Linked DNA regions of Homo sapiens: all the other regions are linked to region 1. The links are contacts of gene promoters, found by promoter capture Hi-C in human tissues and cell types (Jung and others, 2019). All regions are on one chromosome and are shown on one strand. The core of a region is centred on a gene start or on the middle of the fragment in contact, and the rest is flanking DNA. Distances in the headings are between cores, read along the strand shown. Region 1 holds the start of TWIST1 (twist family bHLH transcription factor 1). Region 2 has its middle 140 kb from the start of MIR3146. Region 3 overlaps HDAC9 (histone deacetylase 9). Region 4 overlaps HDAC9 (histone deacetylase 9). Region 5 overlaps HDAC9 (histone deacetylase 9). Region 6 overlaps LOC105375179 (a long non-coding RNA gene). Region 7 has its middle 230 kb from the start of FERD3L.

Region 1 (3,586 bases), core at 814-3,313:
TGCAGCCACGTTCTAAATAAGAATTGCAGAATACTGTAAATTCAGATTTACAAAAAGAACACTTGGTGGAGAGTGGGGCAGAATTTCTGCCGCATTCTCTAAGCGCTTCCAAGAGATAAAATCCTGTAGCGGAAGATGCAAACGCAAGGGTGCAGGGGTGACTGTTTTGAGAACTGCTAGAGTGCTACTGAAATTAAGTGGAGGTCAAGTCGAATCTGATTTTCAGACAATTTTACAGTAAGGCAGCGGCTCACTAAACAGGCCAGTTGACAAGCTGTAGTCACTTTCTGAGTATTTCTGTAAAAATGGTAAGGGATCAACTCTGCAATTTGTCCCTCCCATGAAAGCACAGTCTTGTTTACACCTCGCTGGAGAAATAACACTCGCCCTCACTTCTCCCAAAAAGCTGAACCCTTCAGTCGGCCCAAGCAGCTCCACACCCTGAGGTTTCCAAGACCAAAGCTGCGAGTCTCAGCAGGGAACAGCCACGTGGCCTGCCTGCGCCTCGCCTGGGCTCTTGCCTTCAGCTTGAGATATCTGCAGCCGCGAACCTTGCTCCAGCCCAGAAAGGGGCGCTTTGCTCAATTAATTGTTCCCGCCGGCGAGTCCGTACTGAGAAGCCCATGAGCGGACCTTATGTGCAGGGTACTCCAGCGCGGTGCACAAAACTCGTCGCCCCCAAACGCTGCCCCCACCCCAACACTGTGTACTGACTCCAGCTTTTTACTTTGCCATGTAAGGGATGGACCTGAAACGGTTATTTTACCTCAATTCATTTCAAAAAGGAAACAAGTATGGCATTGCAAAAGATGGGCTTCTTATCCAAGGCGACTTCCTTTCTGGTTCACCAACTTTGCTGCTTCCAGTTTGCCAGGATCTACATTAACACCCTCTTTGGGGCTCTTCGTTTTAACTTACAGACAGAAATGCTTAAAATGTTAGCGTATCCAAGCATTTGGAATTGGGGCTCACGAAGCCTAATTGTCCACTGGATGCCCTAGATAGTGGGGGCTGGGGCGGGGGGGGTCTCAGAGCGGGCAGCCCCTATGTCTAGGCGCTATCAAATTCCCACTTCACTCTCTTACAAGCTGGCCTTTCAAGGTCACAATGCGGAGCCTAATTTGGGGGTGGGGATGAAATGGCCACAGGGTCTCTCCCTTGGGTTGGCATTGCCAGCTGTTAGGGCCGCAGCAAAGGCGCTGCGCTGCCCCCCTCTGGCTCTGCTGCCTTTCCCATGGACTGGGTTTCCTTCCACCGAAGAGTGAACTTCTGCCTCTTTCGAGCACCTTCCGAGGCGTAGTCCTTTGGATGTTGGGGAGCGTCAGACTGGGTCGTTGTAGAGGGGAAAGGAGGGCCCAGAAGGGCGAGAGAGCAGGCCGGGACGCAAATCCTCAGCCCCCGCGGCGCGGCCACGTCTTCAGAAACGCCCAGGACCTCCGGGCTGGGCCGCCGCGGTTTGGCCTTTGGAACTCCAAGGGGTTCGTCTACCTGACCATTGGGTGGGCTCCGCGGTTGACACTTTTCTTGGCATGCCCCCCCACCCCGCGCCACACCACCCCCCCAGCCCCAGCAATCCCAAATCGGCCCCACGGACCTAGAGGGCTCTTGGGCGAGATGAGACATCACCCACTGTGTAGAAGCTGTTGCCATTGCTGCTGTCACAGCCACTCCGGATGGGGCTGCCACCGCGGCCAGGACAGTCTCCTCCGACCGCTTCCTGGGCTGCGCTAGGGTTCGGGGGCGCTGCCCGCACGCTCCGGCGGGGAAGGAAATCGCCCCGCGCCCGCCGGAGGAAGGCGACGGGGAGGGAAGGGGGAGGGCGGCTAGGAGGCGGGTGGAGGGGCCGGCCGCCCGGGCCAGGTCGTTTTTGAATGGTTTGGGAGGACGAATTGTTAGACCCCGAGGAAGGGAGGTGGGACGGGGGAGGGGGACTGGAAAGCGGAAACTTTCCTATAAAACTTCGAAAAGTCCCTCCTCCTCACGTCAGGCCAATGACACTGCTGCCCCCAAACTTTCCGCCTGCACGGAGGTATAAGAGCCTCCAAGTCTGCAGCTCTCGCCCAACTCCCAGACACCTCGCGGGCTCTGCAGCACCGGCACCGTTTCCAGGAGGCCTGGCGGGGTGTGCGTCCAGCCGTTGGGCGCTTTCTTTTTGGACCTCGGGGCCATCCACACCGTCCCCTCCCCCTCCCGCCTCCCTCCCCGCCTCCCCCGCGCGCCCTCCCCGCGGAGGTCCCTCCCGTCCGTCCTCCTGCTCTCTCCTCCGCGGGCCGCATCGCCCGGGCCGGCGCCGCGCGCGGGGGAAGCTGGCGGGCTGAGGCGCCCCGCTCTTCTCCTCTGCCCCGGGCCCGCGAGGCCACGCGTCGCCGCTCGAGAGATGATGCAGGACGTGTCCAGCTCGCCAGTCTCGCCGGCCGACGACAGCCTGAGCAACAGCGAGGAAGAGCCAGACCGGCAGCAGCCGCCGAGCGGCAAGCGCGGGGGACGCAAGCGGCGCAGCAGCAGGCGCAGCGCGGGCGGCGGCGCGGGGCCCGGCGGAGCCGCGGGTGGGGGCGTCGGAGGCGGCGACGAGCCGGGCAGCCCGGCCCAGGGCAAGCGCGGCAAGAAGTCTGCGGGCTGTGGCGGCGGCGGCGGCGCGGGCGGCGGCGGCGGCAGCAGCAGCGGCGGCGGGAGTCCGCAGTCTTACGAGGAGCTGCAGACGCAGCGGGTCATGGCCAACGTGCGGGAGCGCCAGCGCACCCAGTCGCTGAACGAGGCGTTCGCCGCGCTGCGGAAGATCATCCCCACGCTGCCCTCGGACAAGCTGAGCAAGATTCAGACCCTCAAGCTGGCGGCCAGGTACATCGACTTCCTCTACCAGGTCCTCCAGAGCGACGAGCTGGACTCCAAGATGGCAAGCTGCAGCTATGTGGCTCACGAGCGGCTCAGCTACGCCTTCTCGGTCTGGAGGATGGAGGGGGCCTGGTCCATGTCCGCGTCCCACTAGCAGGCGGAGCCCCCCACCCCCTCAGCAGGGCCGGAGACCTAGGTAAGGACCGCGCCGCTGCACCCCTTCGCCTCTCAGGTGGCAGACGGCAGGCCGGCCAGGCCGCGGTTCCCAGTCCACCTCGATTTCCTCCCCTCTCCCACTCTCCGCTCAGCCTTCCCACCTCACTTGGCACCGTTGCCTCGCGCCCCCAGCGTCCCCGGAAGGCCGGTCTGACCCCGCTAGGGAGAGCAGTCTCCAGGGGGATGCGCCCTGGTGAGGGGTGTGTGTGCGCGTGAGTGTGCGTGACAGGAGGGGAGACAGAGACACCCAGGGTCACGGGTAAGGACCGTTTTGTCAGCGCCACCCTTTCTTTCGGCTTTCAATTTTTGTTCTCCTTAAAACAAATGTTTTAAAACAAATTCCACCTCCTCCTCCTTTCCACCCACCCACTTCCTCTTGCCCTTGGGCTGAAATCCTTCCAGGTTGTTCAGCTTAATTTCTCAGTGGTGGTGATAAGAACAGTGCTCACTAGTCTTAGAAAACAGCCGCAGAGACCTAAACAATAACCGACTCCCCCCCCCCCCTCTGGGTTTTTGCAGATGTCATTGTTTCCAGAGA
Region 2 (3,586 bases), core at 717-3,216, 450 kb before region 1:
TAAATCAAAAGTTAAATCAATATTTATGATCTTTATTTATTTTTTCTCTTCAATTTACCATAAGTTCTGCAAAGCAATTAAAAAGTGTGAATTAAGGAAGTCAGAGGATTTCATATGCCTTTGAAAGCAAAGGGATTAATTACTGGATCATTGGACCTTTTACAAGGACTCTCAAAATACCTTCTGGAGAATTAGGAAGATAGGAATAATGGAGCTTTGAATCACCATCCATCACCTTAATTGCTAACATTTATAAAATCTCTAAAGTTGAGAGGAAATTTCACATACATGATTATGAATGTTTCCGGCAGTGGGGGAAAATCGTATAATTGAATAATCCAGAAATTAAGGTATATGACTTTAAGTGCAATGTAATTAGAAAAGTTTCTCTTAAAATTTGCTACTTGCACAAAGGCCTTTACATGTCATGTAGTTTGTAGGTCTCATGTTAAGTGTCAAAAACAAAATGTTTTTTTTAAAAAATACAACACATTCCAAAAAGCTCACTCTTATAGATAAGTTGAGATAGAGTAATAGTGTAAAGACAGAAATAGGGGACCTGCTGGGAAAATATTGCAATAATCAGAATTGTAGGTCAGATCAAATTGGCAGTAGAAGATATGAGACATGAACAGATTCTGAAACTTTTGAATATAAAGAGAACTTGTTGGTGGATCGGAGGCGGAATGTGAGAGAAAAAGGGGAACAGAAGTTGGTCTCCAGTATTTTAGCCTGAGAAACTGGTAAGGAGTTGCCATCAAATAAGATGCGGATGCTCTACTTGGAACATGTTTTTTTCAGGAAATATTATTAATATGAGGAAAAAATACTAGGAATAGGTGATGGGGAGATTAAAAATTTGCAATATGAAGGAAAGGTGTAACAAAAGCATAGTACTACAGTAAGGGAGTGAGCTTGAGAACATTGTGATTGTACACTAATTTGAGGTTTTGGTCATGAAGCTATAGTAATACCAACTTTTCAGGATATGCAATCATTTTCATCATTACCCAGCTGTACACATTCAGTAAGGCAGAAGACAGAGTTTGGTTTATCCTGGATTTGATTGTTGAAGGAAGAAAAGGAGAGTGAGTTGAGGAAATTCACCAAGGAATGTCTATAGTGTTGAGCTACAGAATTCAAGCAACATAAAGGGGAGATAAGAATTAGCCCGGCGTGGTGGCAGGTGCCTGTAATCGTAGCTACTTGGGAGGCTGAGGCAGGAGAATCACTTGAACCCAGGAGGCAGAGTTTGCAGTGAGCCGAGATTGCACCACTGCACTCCAGCCCAGGCAACAGAGCAACACTCTGTCTCAAAAAGAAGTTGTGGAGTACAGGGAGAGGGGAAGTAAGGAGACACTAAAATACCAACAACATATAACATTTGTAGGATTCAATGATCTTACTGCCTTTAAGCCTATTTCTAAAGATTAACATTGACGTATGTGCCCACAAAGAAAAATATTTATCACATTGCTGGTAATAGCAGTGCCTGAATTGTTCAGCCTAGATATTATTACAGAGTGTAAGAGCAAATATACTTTCAAAGTTCAAGCTCATTTTCATTTATTCTTTGTGACTAGTGGACTTAATAAGAACTTCTGACAGAAACAGATTTTCATCAACTATAAATAGAACATAATTCTTGAATTTGTGAATGGTTCTTTGCTGTTATTAATTAGTCCTTTCTTTTTCACATGTAGACTTAAGTTAGTGATTAATTGAAATGTGTTAGGACACTTGTGTTGTCTTAGCAGCTCTGTAGGATTTATGTACTACTTCTGGACAGCGATATAAAATGTGGATTTAATCAGAATGCCTTATACCCTATCTCCAAGAAATTCTATAGGAAACTAAGCTTTCCTAGTTCTAGTGCTTGTTTGGCAGAAAGAATTAAACTTTTTAAAACCATATGGCTCCATCATTTTATTATACAAGGGCTTTCTCTATGAGGATTACCTAAATGACATAGCTGAATCTAATGAGCCAAATTTATCAGAGACCTGTAGGTCTCATAACCTCCTCAAGACCAGATAGAAAGCATAATCAGTGAGTGTGGATTAAAGATACATTTCCTATAATTGTTAAGACTTTATCATAACCAGATTATGAATATCTAGATACCAGTTCAACTGTCTCCTAGGAATTTTAGTGCTTATTTATTAATTTGAGGAACAGAATGCCATCCTACTTCTGGCAATACTATGGACTAAATTAGTTTGCGTAAAATTTCTCACCTTCTTATCTGGTTCTAAGCCTGTAATGACATGAGTTTTCCTCTGTTCAAAAAAGACATATCATCTAGTCTAAGTATCATAAAACACATATTATCATTAAACATCTCTGCCTAATCTGAAGCTATTATACTGGTTCTTTATCTTGGAAGCAGTCAACTAACACCACCCACAGGGATCAAGTATATTTAATGCAGGAGGGATGACGTTTGGGTTTGTCTGATATTTTCTCATGAGTAACTTCAGGTGCTAGGCCTCCAAAAATGGCTGTCTGAGGAAGTTAAGCCATTCTCCACCACAGAAAGTTAGAATAAAATGTCACAAAATAGAAACAAATAGATAGATAGGTATTTCTGCATACTGCAAAATGATCAAAGGCATACAACAAAATGAGATATGTGTTTACTCTTTAAAAATTGCTATTGCCAGTGAGGTAGCTCATGCCTGTAATCCCAGCACTTTGGGAGGCTGAAGCAGGTGGGTCACTTGACGATAGGAGTTTGAGACCCAGCCTGATCAACATGGCGGAACCCTGTCTCTACTAAAAATACAAAAAATTTATCCGGGTGTGGTGGCAGGCATGTGTAATCCCAGCTACTCAGGAGGCTGAGGCGTAAGAGTCACTTGAACTGGGGGGCCGAAGTTGCAGTGAGCTGATATCACACCACTGCACTCCAGCCTGGAGGATAGAGTGAGACTCTGTCAAAAACAAACAAGCAAACAAAAACCTGCTACTACATTGGAGGAAACCAATGGAACATCTGTGGGCTTCTTACCCAGGGATGCTCAAAATACCACTGACCTCCACCCACCACTACCACCAAAGCTCAGGCAGTAAAAACTGGAGCTTTATGAGTGGTGAGTGATGGTTCGCACAGTTCAAGATTGACGGCACAAAGGTTTACTAGCTATGCTGGTGGACTCATTCAGGAAGAGAATATAGGAGACAATAATTGGCAACTATGATGGCCAGGTATTATGGTCTCAATGTGGGGTGGGAGGCAGAACATTAGAATTTAAGGGAGAAATCTTGAAATTGAGTTATAGAAGGCATAAAATAACAAACTCTCCACATCTTTGGTGGACTGCTAAGCTATGCCTTAAGTTGGAGACCTGTGACTGACCAATGAAAAGTAGAAGAGATTCTTGAGTCATGAGTAAAATCCAAGTCACTTGTGATTTTGAATGTAGTCCTCTACCTACGCAGCCCAGTTAGCAGACAGTGGAAGCCTTACAAATTTGAGGTGATTCAGCATAGTTTCTGCCCAAATCACTGGGTAAATGTGAAAATACTCAATCCTCTAGGGATCAAGCTACAGACATGTTGAGTGGAGATATATGCAGCTATACGC
Region 3 (3,586 bases), core at 793-3,292, 380 kb after region 1:
AGAGGGCCAAAAAGAGAAAGGAAGATGGGGCCATGCCCGCTTAGTGGAGCAGTCAGAACACACACAATATTTATCTACCAAGTTCACTGTCTTGATTGGGTGTGGTTCATGGTTCCCCAAAACAATTACAAGAGTACTATAAAAAGATCACTGATTGGGTCCATTCCAAAATGGCCAAATGGGAACAGCTCTGGTCTGCAGGTCTTCTGTGATTGACACAGAAGATGGGGGATTTCTGCATTTCCAACTGAGGTACCTGGTTCATCTCAATAAGACTGGTTGGAGAGTGGGTGCAGCCCACGGAGGGCGAGCTGAAGCAGGGCAGGGCATCACCTCACCCAGGAAGCACAAGGGGTTGGGGGATTTCCCTTTCCTAGCCAAGGGAAGCCATGACAGACTGTACCTGAAAAACGGGACACTTCTGCCCAAATACTGCACTTTTCCCAAGGTCTTAGCAATCGGCAGACGAGGAGATTCTCTTCCGTGCCTGGCTTGGCAGGTCCCACGCTCATAGAGCCTTGCTCAGTGCTAGCAGAGCAGTCTGAGATGGAACTGTGAGGGAGCAGCCTGGCTGGGGAAGGGGTGTCTGCCATTGCTGAGGCTTGAGTAGCTAAAACAAAGCAGCTGGGAAGCTCAAACTGGGCAGAGCCCACTGCAGCTCAGCAAGGCCTACTGCCTCTACAGACTCCACCTCTGTGGGCAGGGCATAGCTGAACAAAAGGAAGCAGACAACTTCTACAGACTTAAACGTCCCTGTCTGACAGATCTGAAGAGAGAAGTGGTTCTCCCAGCACGGCATTTGAGCTCTGAGAATGGACAGACTGCCTCCTCGAGTGGGTCCCTGACACCCATGTAGCCAAACTGGGAGACATCTCCCAGTAGGGACCGACAGACACCTCATATAGGCAGCTGCCTCTCTGGGAAGAAGCTTCAAGAGGAAGGATCAGGCTGCAATATTTGCTGTTCTGCAGCCTTCACTGGTGATACCCAGGCAAACAGGGTCTGGAGTGGACCTCCAACAAACTCCAACAGACCTGTAGCTGAGGGACCTGATGGTTAGAAGGAAAACTAACAAACAGAAAGGAATAGCATCAACATCAACAAAAAGGACATCTACACCAAAACCCCATCTGTAGGTCACCAACATCAAAGACCAAAGGTAGATAAAACCACAAAGATGGGGAGAAACCAGAGCAGAAAAGCTGAAAATTCTAAAAGCCTGAGTGCCTCTTCTCCTGCAAAGCATTTCAGCCCCTTGCCAGCAATGGAACAAGGCTGGATGGAGAATGATTTGTCAAGTTGACAAAAGTAGGCTTCAGAAGGTTGGTAATAACAAACATCTCTGAGCTAAAGGAGCTTGTTCGAACCCATCTCAAGGAAGCTAAAAACCTTGAAAAAAGATTAGATGAATGGCTAACTAGAATAAACAGTGTAGAGAAGACCTGAAATGGCCTGATGGAGCTGAAAACCATGGCACAAGAATTTCATGACACATGCACAAGCTTCAATAGCTGATTTGATCAAGTGGAAGAAAGGGAATCAGTGATTGAAGATCAAATTAATGAAATGAAGTGAGAAGACAAGGTTAGAGAAAAAAGAGTAAAAAGAAATGAACAAAGCCTGCAAGAAATATGGGACTATGTGAAAAGACCAAATCTACATTTGATTGGTGTACCTGAAAGTGATGAGGAGAAGGGAAACAACTTGGAAAACACTCTTCAGGATACTATCCAGGAGAACATCCCCAACCTCACAAGGCAGGCCAACATTCAAATTCAGGAAGTACAGAGAACACCACAAAGATATTCCTCAAGAAGTGCAACCCCAAGACACATAATCATCAAATACACCAAGGTTGAAATGAAGGAAAAAGTGTTAAGGGCAGCCAGACACAAAGGTCGGGTTACCCACAAAGGGAAGCCCATCAGACTAACAGCGGATCTCTCTGCAGAAACCCTACAAGCCAGAAGAGAGTGGAGGCCAATATTCAACATTCTCAAAGAAAAGAATTTTCAACCCAGAATTTCATATCCAGCCAAACTAAGCTTTATAAGTGAAGGAGAAATAAAATCCATTATACATAAGCAAATGCTGAGTAATGTTGTCAATACCAGGCCTGCCTTACAAGAGCTCCTGAAGGAAGCACTAAACATGGAAAGAAACAACTGGTACCAGCCACTGCAAAAACATGCCAAATTGTAAAGACCATTGATGCTATGAAGAAACTGCATCAATTAATGGGCAAAATAACCAGCTAACATCATAATGACAGGATCAAATTCACACATAACAATATTAACCTTAAATTTAAATGGGCTAACTGCCCCAATTAAAAGACACAGACTGGCAAATTGGACAATGAGTCAAGATCCATCAGTGTGCTGTATTCAGGAGACCCATCTCACCTGCAGAGACACACATAGGCTCAAAATAAAGGGATGGAGGAAGATCTACCAAGCAAATGGAAAGCAAAAAAAAGCAGGGGTTGCAATCCTAGTCTCTGATAAAACAGACTTTAAACCAACAAAGATCAAAAGAGACAAAGAACACCATTACATAATGGTAAAGGGATCAATTCAACAAGAAGAGCTAACTATCCTAAAGATATATGCACCCAATGCAGGAGCACCCAGATTCATACAGCAAGTCCTTAGAGACATACAAAGAGACTTAGACTCCCACACAATAATAATGGGAGACTTTAACACCCCACTGCCAATATTAGACAGATGAATGAGATAGAAGGTTAAGAAGGATATCCAGGACTTGAACTCAGCTCTGCACCAAGCGGACCTAATAGACATCTACAGAACTCTCCACCCCAAATCAACAGAATATACATTCTTCTCAGCACCACATCGCACTTATTCTAAAATTGACCACATCATAGGGAATAAAGCACTCCTCAGCAAATGTAAAAGAACAGAAATCACAATAAACTGTTTGTCAGACAACAGTGCAATCAAATTAGAACTCAGGATTAAGTTCTAATTAATTCTAATGAAAACTATATTCTAATCAAAACTGGACAACTACATGGAAACTGAACAACCTGCTCCTGAATGACTACTGGGTAAATAACGAAAAAAAGGCAGAAATAAAGATGTTCTTTGAAACCAGTGAGAACAAAGACACCACTTACCAGAATCTCTGGGACACATTTAAAGCAGTGTGTAGAGGGAAATGTATAGCACTAAATGCCCACAAGAGAAAGCAGGAAAGATCTAAAATCAAGACCCTAATATCACAGTTAAACGAACTAGAGAAGGAAGAGCAAACAAATTCAAAAGCTAGCGGAAAGCAAGAAATAACTAAGACCAGAGCAGAACTGAAGGAGATAGAGACACAAAAAGCCCTTCAAAAAATCAATGATCCAGGAGCTGGTTTTTTGAAAAGATCAACAAAATTGATAGACTGCTAGCAAGACCAATAAAGAAGAAAAGAGAGAAGAATCAAATAGACGCAATAAAAAATGAAAAAGGGGATATCACCACCAATCCCACAGAAATACAAACTACCATCAGAGAATACTATGAACACCTCTATGCAAATAAACTAGAAAATCTAGAAGAAATGGATAAATTCC
Region 4 (3,586 bases), core at 427-2,926, 360 kb after region 1:
TGACTTAATCTAACAGTTTTCTCCGCTAGTTATACTCTAGGCCCCATCCTTGCCATTAAAATGTACCACTATTCCTAAGTTTTCACTTTGATTTATCTTTTTCTCCTTCTCCTTATTCTTTCTTTTGACTCTAAGCAACTATTTTACACTGGCTCTTATTATTATTATTAAAAGTATTTTTAAAAAATAATTTCACTAAATATAAGGAAGTACTTATTCTTGGCAATCACCTTCTGCTTCTTTGGTTGCTAGAGAACAGCCCACAAACATAGTGCACATGTTTCTACAGAAAGAGAGCAGTGAAAACTAATTCAGTACCAAAAAAAAAAAAAAATGTTTCTACCTGTAGACAGGATCTGGAAAAAGCATGTTTTGAAATTTGTATCTCACAGAGACACTGCTAGGAGAATTTGGTGGATGATTAAGCTGAAAATTCTGAAAGAGCAACAGCTTTCTTTATTCCTTAACACATAGGATCTCCTGGAGTAATTCCGTTTTGCCTCACTTGTATAAATGCCTTAAATTTGTCACATTCAACTTTTCCTTTCATATTGAGATCTTCACCAGTTCCCATTTTCTGGTATTGCCATCAGTAATTTAGTATTTTATTTGTGTAGGCTTAAATATAGATATTCCCACGTAATCACTTCTCATATTTTCAACTTTCTGCGCACCCTTTATTCTTTCATTTCTCTCTCTCAAGGCTCTCTTGAGTTAAAGGTCAATAGCATAAAGAGTCAAAAAATAGGCTAAAGTTTTCTGATAATCTTAATTTAGGGAGTACTGATTTCTATTCTCAGAGATACTTGGTCCGAAGGATATCTACGTAAAGTTATCTATGATAGCCTGCCCAAAAAGATTTTTAAGAATTCTGAGCATATTGGGGCACACAATGCAAATAAGGAATGGATTTCATCTGGGGATTTCTCACCTGGAGTCAATACGGGTCTTAAATGCCTTACCAACACAGGCCTAGGAATGAAACCTCATAGCTTTTGTCACCTTCTTAATAAAGAAATTTGTGATGTAGGACTGTGTTCATTGTTACCTTATCGTTCCCTGTGACGTGCACTTAGTTTCTTCCCTGAGAGTCTGAAAAGGAGCTATGCTCACTGAGCACTTACTCTGTGGTTAGGAATATGATCATGTTTAGTTCAGAACCCTAAACAGTCTATATTCAGGTTGGGAGTTTGACTAAAGTTATTTAAAATGACCATATCATTGAGTCTCACAACACACCATGGTTCTTTCTTAAAGAAATAGTCTTTCTGAAAGAGAGCCCGTTAATGCATCCCGATTATAGAAGAAATGTTCTGAACATGATCTACAAAGTCATACTGTGACAGGATAAAATGCAGCCTACCCACACCCACCCACACACAGAGCACACACACGATATAGATTCATATTTTTTTCTGCCAAGGAGCAGGGAAAAAAGGAAACAGTTCTATTCCTTTCCCTCCTGTGTTCAAAGCCTGGATTGAGGCCAGTGTCCTAATCAGTTCTCATTGGCCCTGGAGGAATCAGAACCTTTTGTAAAATATAATAAAGGGCAAAAAATCATGATAAAATGCATGAAAAAGCAGTGCCTTTGGTTAGGGAACTAGAAATAATTTAGCAGAACAGATGGGTTGCATTGGTTTGGTATTATTGTGGACATGAAAGGGCTCATTTTGTGGCAGTTCCAAACTAAGAGAAAATGTCCAACTTAAATTTGACAAGTCAGAGTACCTGCCTCCACTGGGGAAAACTCCATTTTCTTTAATCATTTTCAAAGTGGTGACATACCAGGCAAGAATTTCCACTGAAATATCCCATTTTCTGAAAATATTTCATCCATTGTCTCTAAATAAAGGGATGTGGTTTCATTTATTTTCTCCAAAAATCCAGGGCTGAAGAAATTCAAAGGTTAAAAAAATGAAGAAAATAAAGAATCATAAATGACTTCTTAGTGTCAAAGTTACACTCTGCCACAAATACCATACTTAATATTTAATGAGTCAATTCATGGTCTTATTGATTTTTTTATCTATCTGTCTTTCTTAAAAAAAAACATAAAAATATGATCTCATTGCTTATGCCTAAGCACAACTACTGGAGTTTTAAAATGCTCCAACCAACTGCTTCTTAAAATGTTACGTAAGAAATGGTTTTTAACTGCCCCTGCAACTGCACAATCTTCCACACAACCCTCCTCGTGTAATAACCTGTACTTCTCAGAGTTTTTCTCATAAAAAAAAAAAAAGGTTGGGGAGTGAAAGAAGGAAGGAGGCAATCAAGCAGGCAGGTGGCCTAACAGGCTTTTGGTCCTTTCTGTGGGTCACATGGAAAAAAAGAGAATTGCAAGTTGGGAGCCTTGACTTCTGGTCCTGACTCCCACGTGTCCTTAATGTGCCTATAGTCAGCCATGAGATATCTCTATGGGCCTTTGTTTCTTCATCTATGAACATAAAGATGTTTGACTAAATTATGTCAAAGCTCATTTTTAGCCTTAAGATGATAGGATTCTATGTGAAATAACCTTACACGCAATAGAAATGCAATAAAACACGCTTCGCTTTGATTTATGCATTTGCCTTAGGCAAGCAAATAAAATAATTGCAATGATAAATTACTGAGGTTGAGGCCAAACAGGAAACCTGAATAAGGATTTTCAAAAGGAGTCCAGCTATTCCATGATGCTTGTTTCTTATAAGCTTAATCATAATTGAAAAATAAGAGAATTTTTCACAGCTCATATTCCTATCCTGTGACAACTTCAAAATAATAAACGCTTTTAATAATTTTTGAAAATTATGTACGACACTTGTGAGTTAGTGTCATCTTTGTTTCTCAGGTTAATGCTTACTTCTGTTACTTTCCCATCTCCAAATATTTGATTCACTTGCCTATTTGTCTCTATCTCGTTAAGATTATGTTAAGAAGTTGTGTTTCTGTTTCAGTAGTTCTTAACATTGGCTGCACCTTGGAATCAGCTGGGGAAGTTTAAAAGTTACTGATGCCTGGGTCCTACCTTATTACCTTTGTCTGGGTGCAATTTGGGCACCCAGATGTTTCCAACCACCCAGAGGATTCTAATGGGTAGCTTAGGTCAAGAACCACGTGTTAGAGGGAGCTGTCCATACTTACTGCTCATAACTGAGTGCAAGATACTGACACTGTACTGACCAACACTTGGGACTACGGAATGGTTAAAATATTGGTGGACGGAAGGTTGATGAGTAAAAATATTATCAATCTTCAAAATGTTAAGTGCCTTTCATGTGTCTTAATACTGCTTGATTCAGTCACTACGACTTATTTTAAAGTATTTTAGGACATAGAGCCATTTCTAAAGCACTTCAGAAAACAGCAAATCCCAGTTCAATAATAAAGCTCTGAAATGGTGACGAGCATATATACTCTCTATTTTTTTAAGTTTTACTTCCACCTATTTCAAATCACTGTCCTCACCAGAAAGCAAGAAAAAAATGTTATCCCTTAGTCTAACTGCTCAATTTTCACAATCCTTTATGCAACTGAACCCCCTACATTGCAATTATTCTTTCTAAAAATTGTAAATAAATATTTTAATGGTTGAATTTAA
Region 5 (3,586 bases), core at 548-3,047, 340 kb after region 1:
GAGCCCAGGAGGTTGAGGCTTCAATGAGCTGTGATTGTGCCACTGTACTCCCACCTGAGCAACAGAGCAAGACCCTGTCTCAAACAAACAAACAAAAAATTGGATGCCCCCATCAAAGAAAGCTGAGACAAGAAGGCCATCTCGTAGAACTGTTTCATTAGACTACTGAATTTGAATCTGGTTCAACTGAGTATGGATATTCTGACTATCTTCTGTCCTTAGTCCTATGAACTCCCAGGCCTTTCCTACCAGAGTTGACAATTATGAATAGAAGAAAATCAATGCAGAGTCTAAGTGATAGGTATGACAAGATACATGAGTGGGAATTGAAAAGGAAAAAAAAAAACACAACATAAGAAAAAATGTGAGTCTACATGTTGCTTCACACTTAGCACATAGGATGGTATTGGACAGTACATGCTTATTTAATAATGAATGAATGGATGGTAAATTGTCTTTAGAGGCAATAGATTAAGGAAAGAAAAGTAATCTATTTAGCAGCAAAGAATTTCGCTACTTGTAGGTCTTGGTTTTTATTCCTTAAATGGTCACATCTCAAAATGATACAAGTCATTTTGAGAAGTGCTTACAGATCGTCAGGAAGATACTCGATACAGGCACACCTTGTTTTACTGTGCTTCACTTTATTACACTTTTCAGATACTTTGATTTTTTACAAATTGAAGGTTTGTGGCAACGCCAAGTTAAGCAAGTCTATGGGCGTCATTTTTCCAGCAGCATGTGCTCACTTCCTGTCTCTGTGTCACATTTTGGTAATTCCTGCAATATTTCAAAAGTTTTTCATCATTATTTTATCTTTTATGCCCATCTGTGATCAGTCATCTTTGATAGTACTATTATAATTGTTTTGGGGCACCATGAATCGTGCCCATATAAGACAGTGAACTTAATTGATAAATATCGTGTGTGACTTCTGCTCCACCGATCAGTCTTTCCTCCATCTCTTCTCTTTCTCAGGCCTCCCTATTCCCTAATATTCAGGAATATTGAAATTAGACAAGTTAATAACCCTACGATAGCCTCTAAGTCTTCAAGTAAAAGGAAGAGTTGCACGTCTCTCACTCTCAACACTCTCAATCAAAAGCTAGAAATGATTAAGCTTAGCGAAGAAGGCATGTTGAAAGCTGAGACAGGCCGAAAACTAGACCTGTTGTGCCCAACAGTTAGCCAAGTTGTGAATGCAAAGGAAAAGTTTTTAAAGGAAACTGAAACTGCTACTGCAGTGAACACACAAATGCTAAGAAAGTGAAATAGCCTTACTGCTGATATGGAGAAAGTTTGAGTGGTCTAGACAGAAGATCAACCCAACCACATTCCCTTGAGCCAACGCTTTATCCAGAATAAGGCCCTCAATATTGAAGCAAAACCCTGCACCAGCAAAAAGATTACCACTCACTGAAGGCTCAGATGATCATTAGGATTTTTAAACATAGTTTTAAAATTATGTACATTTTTAAAGATATAATGCTACTGTAAACTTAATAGACTACAGGACAGTATAAACATAAGTTTAGTATACACTGAGAAACAAAACATTTGTGTGACTCACTTTATTGTGCTATTTGCTTTACTGTGTTGCTCTGGAACTGAATCTGCAATATTTCCAAGGTATGTCTGTGTGTATCCATAGTAAATATCAATTAGAGATTATATAAATCATAATATTTAGAATATAACAGAATAAATTCACCAAATGATTTCAGGAGCATAAAAATATCGAATATATTAGTCCTTTAATAGTCTTATCAGTCTTCATAGAAATAATGACTCAATGCATGCTCTATTGCTAAGAGAATCATTGCTTAGTCATTTAATTCCTTTATTTTACTTATTATTTTTTATTTAAAGTTAAGACACTCTATAGCAATAATGATACTGCTAGTCTAAAACTCAGAAGCTATGGGTTTTTCTTGAGTTGGGGAATGATTAAATCCTAGGGATTCTGCTGTGAACTGCCTGCTTATGGCTCAAGCATTCAGTGAGCTAATTTATTTTGGTTTTGAATTTTGAAAAAAAAACTGTTGTTCTCCATTAATGAAAGTTTAGAAGTTATGCTTTACTAAGTTTGTGGTTAAAATACTTCACAAAGACAAATCCAATAATGACACATCAGTTTTACATATTGAATATTAGTTTGTTACGGGGGTGAATATCTGGATCTGGAACTAACTATTCGGAGTGGAAATATGACAGATGAAAAATACAAATGCTGTTACTTCACCTTAAAATGAAAAGCTTAGGTGTGCCTGAATATAGCTGTATTTCAGGCTGCTACAAGAATTATTTTTTTTTAGGTAGTACCATTTCCTTTGTCTACTCTAAATTTTCATTTGATTTAAGCCTAACGTCTCCTTGGCAGTCAGAAGTAGCAATCAGTAGATGATCATATTTTCAAATCTATTCAAGTATGTTTTACTTTCTCAGCTTTTATTTAATCGAGCCACAGATCTTCTAAGTTAGATAGAAATTTAAATTTCATCAAATCCATTTACCTTCAGCAACTGCAGAGCCTAAGGCTGAATTTCTTCTTGTCTCAATGTTCATAATCGTTTTCTTCCTCCCTGTTATTGACATTACTTTGGTGGAAATAGGTGCTTTTGTGTGTGTGTGTGTGTGTGTGTGTGTGTGTGTGTGTGTGTGTGTGTATACAGTTTTTTAAAAAAATAGGTCTTATGGCCCCAGTAATGTAAAAAACACAAATAAAGCTTTGATGATGGCATTTTTTTAGCCATCTCATTTTGGCAACAGAAGAATTTTAACAGCTTTGTGATATTCATGTTTACTTTAAATAAGAAAATGAAGTATTCTTATTTCAAAATGCATCTCGTTGTACTTAGCCATAATGTCAAAGCAATAGAAAGAATTTAATCACAGATGAGATGCTGCAAGTAAGTGAATTAAGGAGGAAATTAAGGTTTTCTTCTCTCATTTTCTTCTTTCCTGCAATGGACATTAGATGCTTAATGATTCTATGTATTTTCACATTTTGTCCCATACACAGAGTAATGTATACATGTGTATCTCTGTAGGGAGTGTTGTCTACATCCCAACAACTATTATTGAGTATACACAATTAGCATAATCTATGCAATACTGGAAACTTCCTTTGCAATTTAGAAGGAATTCCCTGACTTTAATAATATTTCATGCATTTTTTCGAAGTCTGAGGCAACATAATCTTTTTACAGAATTTGCAGCATGAAACTAAATTCTCAGTTTCATTAAGGTGGCTTATCAGTTTTAATTTTGCCAGGTGCCATGGGGTGTTCTTGCTAGTATCAATTGCATCAAGTCTGAAGCTGATGAAAATCCAGATACAGTTAGGAAGAGGAGATATAAAAAAGAGAGATTCTAAATCAGGGTGGATCCTTTTATTGTGCTGGAGGGAAAAAGTTTGTGATACCTCTTTGATAGCAACAGTGGAGGAAATGAAGTACTGATTGCAAGCCAGGTTTGAGTTGAACATTAATAGGAGGGAAATTAACATTACCCTGATTACTGCATGTGAGAAGCAGATGCTACCCCCTCCTCTTTCTGCTGATGTAACAAAAGGCATTGTGCTTGC
Region 6 (3,586 bases), core at 724-3,223, 290 kb before region 1:
TGAAGAGAAAATGGCTACAGTAATTGAAGAGTGTGGGTCTTAGCCAGAGATACATATGTTATAAAACGAGTGTTTCACGACAATGACAAAATCAGTATTGAGAATAACCACCAGAAATGTTAATGGTGAGGTCAGTGGCGGCCTTAGTAAGAGCAGTTTCAGGGGAAGTGGAAGAATTAAAGCTCCGTTAGGGTAAACTAGAGAGAAAATGGATGGAAAGCTGTAGACTAAGTATAGAAAGCTCTTTCAAGTACATTTCCTATCAAAGTAAGGAGAGAAAGAGATGCTCAAAGAGGGATGTGTCAGGAAATTTTAGTTTTTTTTAAGACAAAAAAAAAAAAACATGTTAGTATGCTGATAGAAAAAATCTAGTAGAAAAGCTAAACTTGATGATACAGGAGCAAAACAGAAATGCTGTCACGATGTTCCGGAGTAAGTCAGAGAGGTTGGGATATAGTGCACAAGTGATAGATTTGGCCTTTGTCAAGAGCACAATTTATCTAGTGAAATAGGAAAACCAGAGTAGAGGCCAAGATGCAGGTGGAGAAGGACGTAGTGGTGGAACAAATGGAAATTCTCTTCTGATAGATTTTATTTCCTTAGTAGAAAGGAAGGGGTCATCAGTTAAGATTGAGAATGGGAGATGAGGTGTTGGGGGTTTGGATGGAGAAGAAAAAGCATGGAGAGTCATCTAGAAGGGTAGGGATGGAAATGGGTTAGGGAAATAATTGCTATACTTCATTAACAGTCCAGCTGAGTTTGCTAATCATAAAATTAAAGTGTGACTATTTTTGTCTTTATTTTCCAGCCTCCTTCAGCTGCTTGGGTACATCCACAGAATTTACAGAGTTGGATTCAAGCCAAACTTTACACGTTCAAATGGTTAAAAATATTGACTTCACTTTTATTTTTCAGTTGTATCATCATGAAAAAGTGATACATATGAAATGTTCTTGATCATCAACAGTGCTAAATTACTCCAGTTCTAATCCCTAATTTCTTAAGCTGTACATAGATTTGCCTACGTAGATTGATTTAAATTGTTTCACAATATAGTATGTCTTTAAACCATGGGTCAGCAAATTTTTTTATAAAGGGCTCAATAGTCCACATATTAGGCGTTGTGGGCTATACGGTCTCTGTCAGGTATTCAATAGCTATTAATAAAATATTCAGATAAACTTAAAATTTGTGAAAACATCTACAAGGGTGCCTGGCATTAACAATGATAATTAGAACATTTTCCTTCAGTGGAATGCATAGTTGGAATCCTTGATGTCCAAGGGGTAATATACAAATCAACAGGATCAGCTTTACCTGGGAACTCATTAGAAATGCAGAATCACAGGCTTCACATCCTGTCTTATTAAAGAGTCTGCATTTTAAAAAGAGCCCTATGTGGTTGTATGCACATTAAAGTTTGAGAGCTTTAGTTCAGAAAGCAAGACTAGGATTTTCCATATGTGGAATCAAATAACCTGTAACAAATATCACAAAGTTAACAAAAACTGGAATAATATGAAGCAAAATGAGAGAAATAAGAAAAGAAGAAAAGAGGAAGGAATTCATTTCCTGATCAGATGTCCATCAAACAATAAATGGATAAATAAAATGTGGTATATCCATAAAATAGAAAATTATTCACCCATAGATGAATCTTGAAAATATTATGCCTAGTGAAAGAAGCCAGTCACAAATGGCCACACATTTTATTTCCAATTATATGAAATGTCCAGAATAGGCATATCCATAAAGACAGAAAATAGATTAGGAGTTGCCAGGAGCTAGAAAGAGGGAAGAATGGGAAGTGATGGCTAACGGGTATGGGGTTTCTTTTCTGGGTGACGAACATGTTCTGGAATGAGATAATGATAATGGTTGCACAACTCTGTGAATAAAAGCTAAAAACCACTGACATGTACACTTTAAAACAGTGAATATCATGGTATGCAAATTATATCCCAATTTTTAACATCCAAAGAATTGAAAAATGGAGACAATAATTTAAAAAGTGATGAAAGGTTTCCTTCCATGGCAATTTTGTGGCAATTGTGTTTAAAGAGTTCTAGAATTTCAGGAAGGAGAGATGAGCAGAGACTGCCGTTCCTATAAAACTGATTGAAACAAATATCTATAATCAGAAAGAGTTTTTCTTTAGACTTTAGGTGAGTTTGATAAGGATGAAAAACTGCAGAGAAATTGGTTTTCTAGTGTACCTAAAGTAACCTACCTTGGGCCAAGTTGGCAGGAAGGTTGCTGGCAACTACTCCTGAAAGAAAGAGAGGGAGGGAGACAGAATTTGCAAGTTTGGTATGTTACACTGAATGTAACTTGAGTATCTTCCTGTATTAACTAACACCACAGATCTCTGCCACCAACCCCACAACACCACACCCTGTAGCCACAAACAGCCTTCAGGTTTTTCCTCCCCGCCTTCATAACGGTCTTAAGCCCAACCACATAATCTGAATTGGAAGATTTAAGTTGTTTGTATATGCTCCAAAAGGAATCCCAACTGTTTGAGTGTTTCACATACTTCGGAGTCAGTAATCACACAGCCTGGGTGATGACTGAATGAGTCACACTGAGGAAAACACAGACTGAAGTTGAATCAGGACTACAATTTGCAGATGTGCCCTCACACCCACTCAAAATGGGAATCTCCACTTATTTAAAGCCTCTAACTGTAACTTAGTACCCATTCTCTTATACTGAAAATGTACAAAACCCACAGGTTTTCTGAGTTGAAAATTAGTTTTCAAATAAAGCTGAAAGTTAAGTAGCAAATTCTTTACATTTTGAAAAATATATATAAAGAGAGCAGTGAGTGCATTAGTTACTAATATTTAGCAAGCTGTGATTTTTAAGGTTTTTAAGGATAATTTTCATTTTAAAGTCAATAACACCAAGCTTATCTATTAAGGAGCAAATCTTATTTCTTCTTTTCCTGCACCCACAGTAAAATGATAGTGGTAGGACAGCGTATGATCACTTTCACAAGCAAAACCTAACTTCCTAAAAATTTCCATTTTGGGCTGGGCACGGTGGCTCACGCCTGTAATCCTAGCACTTTGGGAGGCCGAGGCGGGCGGATCAGGAGGTCAGGAGATCGAGAGCATCCTGGCTAACACGGTGAAACCCCGTCTCTACTAAAAAAAAAAAAGAAAAAATTAGCTGGGCTTGGCGGTGGACGCCTGTAATCCCAGCTACTCGGGAGGCTGACGCAGGTGAATGGCATGAACCCAGGAGGCAGAGCTTGCAGTGAGCCGAGATGGTGCCACTGCACTCCAGCCTGGGCAACAGAGCGAGACTCCATCTCAAAAAAAAAAATAAAAAATAAAAAAATTCCATTTTGGATTAACTCAATAATATAGTTAACTCATTTTGTAAGAATGAACGTAGGATGAGCAACGGTGACTTAGAAATAAAACAGATTATAGGCCAGGCGTGGTGGCTCATGCCTGTAATCCCAGCATTTTAGGAGGCTGACGCAGGCAGGATTGAGACCAGGGTTCAAGACCAGTCTGGGAAACATGAGGAAACCCTGTCTCTACAAAAAATATAAAAATTAGCTGGGCCTGGTGGC
Region 7 (3,586 bases), core at 454-2,953, 260 kb before region 1:
GGATGAAGGGTGACCAGTTATTTAAAATATCAGAAATTAATAAATACACTACCTTTGCTTTATAAGTAAAACTTTTTTCCTGGTAGGAAAAAAAGATAACTCGGGAATATTAAGCACGCAAAAAACTTTTCTTCATCAGTTTGGTTCTTTTCAAATTAAAGAGATTTAGTGAACTTGCTGTTGGAGATGACAGTAAACAACTCAAAATACAAACACACCAATCAAACCTATAAGTATAGTCATAGTCGTTGATATTCAGAATCGCTGTTCCTTGTCTGGTTAATTAATACAATTTTAAATATTTCATATGAAAGAATTTTTTGGAAAAAAAATGAAATGAACTTAAGATTGACTGGAATTTACAAGCTCATTTAAAGAAAAGTCTCAGCTATTTTTTTCTTAAAAATGTAATACCTCCCCAGATGGCAGTCTTTGTAGTTTGTGGCACTGATTCAAAAGGCATATTAACTGCCACTCTACTAGCTGCATCAAGCATTTACAGGCCTCCCTACAGAATGGGTTCAGCAGTAATTAAAATAACACCCTTCCTCAGGGTGAAGTTACACTTGAAGACTTCGGGGATGTTTTTCTTTCCTTCCTTTGGGTAAATTCCTTCTCCCCGAAATATAAGAAAAAGATGAGAGTGGAGAGAGCTTCAGAGAAAGATGGGGAGAGAGGGAGAGAAGTTTAAAATAGTACACCAAAGCGTGTGTCACATAAACTATTTTAAAATGTTAGTATTTCTTCCATTCCCTAGCAGACATTGATAGACAAACAGGTTAAAAAAAAAGCAAGGGGGAAAAATATCATTTACTCACTGTAGCAGCAGGAAATCAAGGAAAGAAAATAAACAGGGCTTGAATTGTGGGCCTTTAACCTGCTAGTCAGACAGTTTCATTCTGTGTGTATTTGTGTGCTGGTAAATGGCGAAGGGGAGGTACAGGGACGGGAGGGCTGTGGGATTCTCGGGACTCCCACAGCTACCAGTCCAGCTGTACAAACACGCACAAGCTTTGTTAAGGTACGGTGGGCAACAAGCTCAAACTGCTGAGCTATCTGACCTATAAATCCCTCGCAAAAGCTCCACTTGAGGGGAAGCCAGAAGTTATGTGTCAATTTTTTATCCAGCCAGAAGCTAGCTATTGGTCACTTCCGTCTCCCCTGTCTTTTTCTCTCAATGGATCCTCTGCTCTGGCGGGCTACATTTTAAGTATGTGTAGATGCATAAATGGCTATCTTAAATTCTACTTCTCTCTAGGCTAAACAAGAAGGGGGATGACTCAGAAGCACCCCCCCCCCCCACCACTTCATGACACAGCTTAGAGCATATGTTCCAAAATTATGAGCCATAACTTTAGGCAGAGCAATGAAACTTTCTGTTATTCTTTTTATAAATTTCTTTTTCAAACTCAGTAAGCGCATCACTTTAAAATACCATAAATTTACAAATACAATTTTTTTAAACAACGCAAGCACAAGAGACTTGAGATATTCCCTTATATATGACACAACTTACTTTGCTCTGTTTTTAACTTTGCTTTTTTCCTGATTCAAAACAGATAATCTTAGCTTGGCATATTGTATCTTGAATGCAAACAAAGAAGAGGTTCTGAATTGCTAACTCCAAAGAGAACCTTCCTAAGATTTTTTTTCTCTTTTCTAAACATTTCTGAACTCTAAGTGACCTCCTTTTATGAAGCTTCCAAATGGCATCCAAACACCTTAAACATCGTGCAGTTACTAAACTGTATAGACTATTAAAAAGCTGAAGAAATTACATAAAACTATAACACGTGAAGCAGGCTTAATTTAAGTAGAAATGGCTTTTGTAATCATTCAGAAAGCTAGAGATGTCTCTATGTTTAAAATATTTAGAAGCCACTTTGGGCTTTCCAAAATCCTGAGGAAAAAATATAATCCACACTAAAAACAAAAGGCATGTACCCACAGAGAGATGTTTACTCTATGCACCTTCTGTTCTGATAACTTAGAGTTATGTGATTTGGGTAGCATTCAAACAATATTGAATATTGAGAGACATTAAGCAAAAGTTGCATTATACTGAAATAATATTTCATGTTAAAGATTTATTTCAATAATTGTCACTGAATTTCTACAACACACTGAGCACCAGACTAGGACTAAAAAGGGTGGTAAGTGATGAATCATTGCTCTTGCTATCTTATCAGAATGTGCACTCAGGGAAAGAAGATAAAACAAGCACAGCCATAACTACACCACACAACTAAAAGAGAGAAGTACACCAGAAAAGTAAAAACGCAGAACTATGGACGTACAGAAGTGGCAGGAAGGACTTCCAGAAAGAGGAAGTCAATGAAAATTATGCCTTGGACCTTTTCATCTTCTCAAAATATATCATATATATCACATGAAGGATGGATAACTTCCATCACATTAAAATAATGATAAAGAAATAGAGACGACTTGTGGCAAAAGAGTTTGTAAACATTCTCTGACAAGGAATTTGAAGGAAAGAGATTTTGTTTCAGTGAACCAAATCCTGGGAGATGCAGCCTCTAGTGTAAAAATGAAGGTGCACATTCTAGAAAACAAGGAGAGGGTTCAAGTTTTATAGCAAGAAACTCCTGCCTGGGTTGCCAATCAGATCTGTTTATGCAAATGAAAGATTGAATCTTCCTTAGTTCTGATTGGTCAGTGCAGCTGAGCCTTGATTGGCTGGGGCAAGTAAGAGCTGACTGGTTTGTTTCAAAGCCCCAAACCAGAAGTCTCTGTCTTATGTTTCTTTCAAAGGGCAGTGGTGGGTGTGCAAGAGGGCATGTGATGGCATGAAGCTGGGTGAGGTTCTGGCTTTCTGATCCAGGCCTGACAACAGGAACTGGTTTTGCTTGATTGTAGAAAAGAAGGTTTCATGATACTTTCACAACATCTTTCTGAGAACATAGAGTTACTGATGGCTCCCTCACCCAGCTATGGCTGCATAGTTCTGTTTCAACTTTAAGCACTTCTGTTAGCCGTGGGGAAGTCCATTTTGTCTGTTGGCCAGGAACACACTTCAGCAAGTTAAAGGCTAGAGTAAGTGACTTCCAATTGAAAAAGATAGCTCAGCTAGGATAACCAAAAAAGAAGTAGATTCCTGGTCCCTGACTTCCATTCAGAAGGCAATATCTGTTCATCTCTCTGATATAGATTCAGAGAACACAGTTTTATATGATCTCTTGGAACCCAGAAAAGTCTAGTAATGTCAGCATTGATTATGTGCTTTATCAAATTAAATTGATATAAAATAATACAACTTATCTCACCATCATTTCTCCCTAGTTCTAAAGGCCAGTTTTCCAAATGTTCTCTTGATATCTCTAATATTCTAGGAAATGACAAACAAACCCCAATATATGGCGGCTCTAACAATAAATAATGTATACAGCAATTCTCACATTTAAACAAATTTACAAGAAAAAAACAACCCCATCAAAAAGTGGGCGAAGGATATGAACAGACACTTCTCAAAAGAAGACATGTATGCAGCCAAAATACACATGAAAAAATGCTCATCATCACTGGCCATCAGAGAAATGCAAATCAAAACCACAATGAGATACCATCT

What was found. Contacts are between HindIII fragments. The study calls those that stand out against the background at their distance.
Region 2: a fragment that was not itself captured here is called in contact with the fragment with the promoter of TWIST1 in region 1 in 1 of the 25 tissues and cell types used here (dorsolateral prefrontal cortex).
Region 3: a fragment that was not itself captured here is called in contact with the fragment with the promoter of TWIST1 in region 1 in 1 of the 25 tissues and cell types used here (mesendoderm cells).
Region 4: a fragment that was not itself captured here is called in contact with the fragment with the promoter of TWIST1 in region 1 in 1 of the 25 tissues and cell types used here (aorta).
Region 5: a contact is called between a fragment that was not itself captured here and the fragment with the promoter of TWIST1 in region 1, in 1 of the 25 tissues and cell types used here (aorta).
Region 6: a fragment that was not itself captured here is called in contact with the fragment with the promoter of TWIST1 in region 1 in 3 of the 25 tissues and cell types used here (H1 embryonic stem cells, IMR-90 fibroblasts and heart right ventricle).
Region 7: a contact is called between a fragment that was not itself captured here and the fragment with the promoter of TWIST1 in region 1, in 1 of the 25 tissues and cell types used here (H1 embryonic stem cells).

What each region holds. Positions count from the first base shown.
Region 1 is chr7:19,116,113-19,119,698 of GRCh38, reverse strand. TWIST1 (twist family bHLH transcription factor 1) reads left to right here and starts at 2,063. Exons shown (of 2, transcript NM_000474.4): 1 at 2,063-3,028; 2 at 3,568-3,586. The coding sequence starts at 2,378. The coding sequence ends at 2,986. RefSeq lists enhancers at 53-916, 1,990-2,773, 2,797-3,056. The HindIII fragment of the contact is 7,370 bases long and covers 1-3,586 here.
Region 2 is chr7:19,567,087-19,570,672 of GRCh38, reverse strand. No RefSeq gene overlaps it. Among named protein-coding and RNA genes, the nearest start is that of MIR3146, 140 kb to the left of the region's middle. The HindIII fragment of the contact is 5,624 bases long and covers 1-3,586 here.
Region 3 is chr7:18,736,980-18,740,565 of GRCh38, reverse strand. The region is part of intron 13 of HDAC9 (histone deacetylase 9); the gene reads right to left. Among named protein-coding and RNA genes, the nearest start is that of HDAC9-AS1, 160 kb to the left of the region's middle. The HindIII fragment of the contact is 3,301 bases long and covers 392-3,586 here.
Region 4 is chr7:18,755,537-18,759,122 of GRCh38, reverse strand. All of the region lies in intron 14 of HDAC9 (histone deacetylase 9), which reads right to left. Among named protein-coding and RNA genes, the nearest start is that of HDAC9-AS1, 140 kb to the left of the region's middle. The HindIII fragment of the contact is 3,943 bases long and covers 1-3,586 here.
Region 5 is chr7:18,772,445-18,776,030 of GRCh38, reverse strand. All of the region lies in intron 16 of HDAC9 (histone deacetylase 9), which reads right to left. Among named protein-coding and RNA genes, the nearest start is that of HDAC9-AS1, 130 kb to the left of the region's middle. The HindIII fragment of the contact is 4,534 bases long and covers 1-3,586 here.
Region 6 is chr7:19,404,015-19,407,600 of GRCh38, reverse strand. It overlaps LOC105375179 (a long non-coding RNA gene), which reads right to left. Exons shown (of 6, transcript XR_007060244.1): 6 at 1,698-2,269. Among named protein-coding and RNA genes, the nearest start is that of FERD3L, 260 kb to the right of the region's middle. The HindIII fragment of the contact is 4,859 bases long and covers 1-3,586 here.
Region 7 is chr7:19,375,402-19,378,987 of GRCh38, reverse strand. No RefSeq gene overlaps it. Among named protein-coding and RNA genes, the nearest start is that of FERD3L, 230 kb to the right of the region's middle. The HindIII fragment of the contact is 3,576 bases long and covers 1-3,491 here.